Regions from separate parts of the Homo sapiens genome. Here region 1 is linked to region 2. The links are contacts of gene promoters, found by promoter capture Hi-C in blood cells and fetal thymus (Javierre and others, 2016). All regions are on one chromosome and are shown on one strand. Each heading gives the region's core, a stretch centred on a gene start or on the middle of the fragment in contact. The rest is flanking DNA. Distances are from core to core; before and after follow the strand shown. Region 1 overlaps GAS2 (growth arrest specific 2). Region 2 holds the start of FANCF (FA complementation group F).

Region 1 (2,999 bases), core at 165-2,664, 67 kb after region 2:
CAATAGCACTTTTTGTTTAGAGAACATCTCATCAAGATTTAATTCTGAGAAATCCAGATATTTGTGTTTATTGCTGATCTCTCTGCCAGAACAAGAAAGTATGGTAGATGCAATAAAAGGTTTTGTATGAAAAAGAAAATAAAATCTCAGCTGTGATTAATCTGGAGTCATTCATTGCTGGCTATACAGCTAAATGATTTTATATCCCTTAAAATTTATTGTTCTAAATTGCAAACATAATGCTAGAATTAAACAGAGAATATATTATGATGAGATGGGAAGAATATAAGTGGCATGATGTAGAAAGAAATAATTTTTTTATAGGTATGTTGCTGCCTGAGACTAAAGGAAAAAGAAAAGTTAGTGGTAAAGTCCACTTCCTCAGGATTTGTAAAATATAGGTAAAATATATTTAAGCTTTAAATACACTAATTTTTTTATTTACTTTGTAATTGCTTCCTGAGGTTGAATTATTTCTCAGTATAAAATTAAATCCCCCTGTCACTATTTTTTAAGTCTCTGACCAAATAGCCAAATTATTCACCTCCAAATCAGAGACAATGAAATGTCTTGCTTAATGTTTTTTGTTTTTTTTTCCACTGAGAGTTTCTGTTCTATACTATCTTCCAGAGATATGCCTAAATCGGGCTTCAATGCCATAGCAATACATGTTGGTAAATCATATAGAATAAAAAGAATGGTATGTAAAGGAGCTTGACTTTTATTTTTCAAATAAAACTCATCACAGGAGACTTGATATGGGCTACATTTGCAGATGGGGGTGGGGGAGCGGAAAGCAGCAATGTGAAAAATTGGGCAAGATAGGGAGTGAGTGATGTGCCTATGGAACTTATCTAGATCTTCATGTCTAATTGAGCCCATCCCATACATGGCACTTGTACTTGTAAACCCAGAAAATCGGAGACAAGTCTCAGTTAATTTAGAAAGTTTATTTTGCCAAGACTGAGGACGTGCGCCCATGATACAGCCTCAGGCAGTCCTGATGACATGTGCCCAAGGTGGTAGGGGCACAGCTTAGTTTTATACATTTTATGGAGACATGAGACATCCATCAATATATGTAAGAAGTACATTGGTTTGGTCTGGAAAGGCAGGACAACTTGAGGCAAAGGCAGGAAGACACGAAGTAGGGAGGATGCTTCCAGGTCACTGACAGATGAGAGAGAAATAGTCGCATTCTTTTGAGTTTCTGATTAGCCTTTCCAAAGGAAGCAGTCAGAAATGCATTTATCTCAGCCATCAGAGGTATAACTTTGAATAGAATGGGAGGCACATTTGTCCTCAGCACTTTCCAGCTTGAGTTTTCCTTTTAGCCTAGTGATTTTTGGGGACCCAAGATATTTTCCTTTCACATACTCAATGGTAAAGTAGTGCTGGGCACAATAAAAAATATGGCCCAGTGGATCATATGGCACTAAGTTCATGATAAACATTTAATGTTTCATGATTACTGGTTCCCATGGTAGAAATTCAGTCTCCATCAGACAACAAGAACAAGCGAGGAACATTTGTGTCGTGTCCTTTCCTAAAAGGGCAATGTTCCTACCTGACCCCTACTACTAGATGCTGAAACTTTGTTTAGTTGGCAGAACCCCTTTCTGCATTTTCATGAGATTTATTCTCTACCCTCCAGAATGTGTGTATTTTATGAAACCGTCTGGTTTCCCTACTATTCCTGCTTTGCAGTATCAAATCTCCAATATCAAATATTGTAAAATAGAAGAGGAGCTTGATGACCTGTGATGTTGAAATATCCATGGTCCCTGTAGGTTATGTCACAGGGCTGGAGATGGTGTATAGGATAGTAAGAATTCTGTTGTTACTGTCAAACATATGCAAACTGATTCTGGAATTTTCTACTTATAAGAATAAAGAAAATTCCATTCTCCAAACCAAGAGATGAATGTTAAGTACCAGGATATTGAGTGATAACACTTCATTGAAAAGACCACATCTGTAACATCGATTCTGATTAAATATGTTACTTCATTGTAATCTTCCCACTGTTTCCAAGTCATGTCAATCTTTTTTTACTGATTTTCATTGAGATGTGGTAGAAGTCACTTTTATTTTTTGCAATGTTCAGGTCATTAATAACAGCATGAATCTCTGACTTTTTAAATAGGTGTGCTTTTTTTATTTGGTACTTTTACCACAAAAGAACTTATTCCATGTGTCAAGGATAAAAATTATGACATTTTTTGAGAATATCCATGCAAATTGCACATTCAGGTAAAACTATAAAAATAACATCTAATGTTTGCAAAAGTGTACTAGTTATAGTGTAAAGTAGGTTTAGGTAAAAAATCTAACTGTCACCTGATTCCTCACAAAGCATTTCCCTTTTCTGAATGCATAGTAAACAGATCAGGTCCCTTTGGAGATTGGAAGGAAGCTTTATATAAAGACTTGAGATCATTACTGCCTTCATTCAGTGAGCTCTGGGTCTATAATTTGGCTCTAGTCTGGGAATTGGGCAATCAGAAAATTTGTTGCTCTTTTTGTTATACAAAGAAACCCAAATACTGCATGTTCTCACTTATAAGTGGTATCTAAATGATGAGAACCCATGGACACATACAGGGGAACAACACACACTGGTGTCTTTCAGAGGGTAGCGGGAAGGAGGAGGGAGAGGATCAGGAAAAATAACTAATGGGTACTAGGCTTAATACCTGGGTGATTAAATAATCTGCACAACAAACCCTCTGACACAAGTTTACCTATATAACAAACCTGCACTTGTACCCCTGAACTTAAAATAAAAGTTAAAAAAATAAGAATTTAGGGAATTGACTTTCAATTTACTTCCCAAGGCCCCATGATTAATAAACCATAATCAGATTTCCTGTGCTTTAGGTCATTCTAGGAGATCTGATTGGCCTCTCCAGATTGTATTCTGTCCGCCATATCCACTTTGCCTCTGGAAATTAAGTGCCAACGTGTGTTCCTGCCACCCGGAGAATTTCCATTCACAC
Region 2 (2,944 bases), core at 174-2,673:
TACACATATTTTCAACATTCTTACAAATGGGCCTTCTATTAAAAAGCAAACTATTGCTAATTCCATGGCTTTAAGTGGAGTACTTCCAATCACTTCCTCTATCCAGAAAATCCGTGACACTACATGCCAGCTACTTTGCATATTTATAACTGTTTAATAAACTATTCAAAATTAGCATCTAAAATAATTATACTTTGGACACACGAAGGCATATATTTGGTGAGAACATTGTAATTTTCATTTTGTAAACTATATATTCTATATTCAAGTAATAACACAGCATTGCCTATACAGAACTGAGGCCTGCGCTGAGACCCAAAACTTGTCTTTTCCTAAATGCACCACTACGAAGAGCTAATAAGAGGTCTGTCCAGATGCTAAGACCAGGTACTTCAAAATCTCCATCCTGCGCTTTACAGGTCTCCAGGGCAGTTAGAACTTTATCTTTCAGAGGTGGAGGGGCCTGACAGAGGCTTTGAAACCTATTGTGCAACTCCTCCCAGGGCACATCTTGGGACTCAGTTCCAACCCAAATGCCTTTCTGAAGGTCATAGTGCAAACGTTGACCCCAGTCTGTTAGCAGACCCAGATAGACAGGAGACAGCGCTGGGTGGCGGCTAGTCACTAAAGTCAAAAGCCCGGCTGGGAGGGCGCGACAAAAGGCAGCAAAGACTTCCGAATTCCCCAGAAGCCAGTGGACTAGCACTTGGCTCCCCTCTCCAGGTGATTTGTGGATGCCGGGTTCCAACTCTTCTTGGGGCCGACGAGACAAAGGCGGCTGCAACAGCGCCACCGCTATCACCTTCAGGAAGTTGTTCTGAGGCAAGCGCTCCCACAGGCTGCTGAGAAACCTGGCGGGACGCTCCGCTTCGGCCTTCCCCACCTCCTGCAGACGCTCCAGCAGCAGCTCCGCCTGGGTCTTCATCAGAGAGTCCTCCTGGAGATTTGGGTTCTCTCTATAGCCATTGAAGCGCAGCATGTGCACCGCAGACCGCCGGCGGGCAAGGCGGGCCAGGCTCTCTTGGAGTGTCTCCTCATCGGCGTCCCGGACGCCCGGGCCGGGAAAGAGTTGCTGCACCAGGTGGTAACGAGCTGCATCCCCGAGGGCCCGGTTCTCCAGCAGGCGCAGAGAGAGCAGGACGTCACAGTGACCGAGGGCCTGGAAGTTCGCTAATCCCGGAACTGGACCCCGCCCAAAGCCGCCCTCTTGCCTCCACTGGTTGTGCAGCCGCCGCTCCAGAGCCGTGCGAATGGGGCCATGCCGACCAAAGCGCCGATGGATGTGGCGCAGGTAGCGCGCCCACTGCAAGGCCCGGCGCACGGTGGCGGGGTCCCAGGTGCTGACGTAGGTAGTGCTTGAGACCGCCAGAAGCTCGGAAAAGCGATCCAGGTGCTGCAGAAGGGATTCCATGAGGTGCGCGAAGGCCCTACTTCCGCTTTCACCTTGGAGACGGCGACTCTCTGCGTACTGATTGGAACATCCGCGAAATGATACGCCTCTCTGCAATGCTATTGGTCGAAATGCATGTCAATCTCCCAGCGTCTTTATCCGTGTTCCTTGACTCTGGGCAACTTAAAAGCCCTAATACTTTTACTTTCGCCACACAAAGAGGTTCTTCTTAGTGGAGGGAGAGCAGATGTAGGGCATCCTACCGAGAATTTCCGGAACCACGTGCGAGATGATGCCAGTCATGAACGTCTCCGCGCTTCCTTTCGCTTTGGAAATATCCTTAAGTAGAAATTTTCTGAGCTTTGCCTAAAACTAGAATCTGTGTTGAGGTTTTTCAAAATTAAGTAACGCCAGAGACATACTGTGACGTGAGGAAACGCTCTTAAATGAAATTTTAAGATCTATTTGAGAAACATGTACTAAAAATGTACTGACCTCCTATTAATGCCAGGCGCTATGCTGAATTCTGGGCCTTCACATTGTCCTTCCATTATTAGAACTGAAGCCCAGATTATTTGAAACAAAAAATAAACTTCAATAATTTATTAAAATTTGCAAAGGAACAAAATTTTACTTCACAATTGTACATTTCGTTTTCGTAATTTTTAGGACAAAATAGCTTAATTGACTCTTCTGTCATACAAATAATCAGCTGAAGGAAATGGCATTTAAGAGCATCGAACAATAATAAATGTTTGATTAAATAAAAACCGTGACAAGAGAGTAGGGAGGAGAAGGTCCTATGTCGCTCACTGATGCACTTAACAAACATTTGTCAACTCCTAGGAGTTGCATTCTGTACAAAATGCACAACAATTCTTACTTAAGTTCATAATATAGTAATTCATTTGAGCTGAATTTCCTTCCAGTCCTAAAGACACAGCCAAAACTATTCGAAAAGTGGGGGAAGGTGTTTTGTTTTGTACTTTAACAAAAAGGGGAAGAGAAACAAATTTAAAAGAGGGGAAGAGTCATTTTTCATTTATTAAAATAAGCATTCCTACACCTTTTAGAAAGTAAAGCAGTGATGTGCATGCTGTTAATTCAGATTTATGCATTTATTTATTTATTTTGAAACGGAGTCTCATTCTGTCGCCCAGGCGCGGCCAATTTTTGTATTTTTAGTAGAGATGGGATTTCACCTTATTGGTCAGGCTGGTCTCGAACTTCTGACCTCAAGTGATCCTCCCGCCTCGGCCTCCCAAAGTGCTGGGATTAGAGGCGTGTGCCACCGCGCCCGGCTATTATTTGATTTTTATTAGTTATCTCAAACTCTTACTTGGTCCTGAAATCGTTATTTTATTTTATCCTAAGGATACTATGAATCTTAAAATTCTTTTTCTTGGCTACTACAAACTTAGAACCAAGTGTGCAGCCTGCCTTTAGCAAATGTACAGGCATCACTAATTCATTTATTTATTCTTATATTTAACACCTATTATGATACATAGTATGAGGTGCTACAGATTTAGTAGTAAAATAAATGCAGTCCTA

What was found. Contacts are between HindIII fragments. The CHiCAGO score rates a contact against its expected background, and 5 or more counts as called.
Region 1: a fragment that was not itself captured here is called in contact with the fragment with the promoter of FANCF in region 2 in 2 of 17 cell types (naive CD4 T cells and non-activated CD4 T cells); the score reaches 5.9 in naive CD4 T cells.

What each region holds. Positions count from the first base shown.
Region 1 is chr11:22,691,381-22,694,379 of GRCh38, forward strand. The region is part of intron 3 of GAS2 (growth arrest specific 2); the gene reads left to right. Among named protein-coding and RNA genes, the nearest start is that of GAS2, 26 kb to the left of the region's middle. The HindIII fragment of the contact is 1,999 bases long and covers 416-2,414 here.
Region 2 is chr11:22,624,400-22,627,343 of GRCh38, forward strand. It overlaps FANCF (FA complementation group F), which reads right to left and starts at 1,424. Exons shown (of 1, transcript NM_022725.4): 1 at 1-1,424. The coding sequence starts at 1,411. The coding sequence ends at 287. It also overlaps a transcript of GAS2 not described here. RefSeq lists enhancers at 314-473, 484-533, 914-1,123, 988-1,887, 1,214-1,403. The HindIII fragment of the contact is 15,033 bases long and covers 1-2,944 here.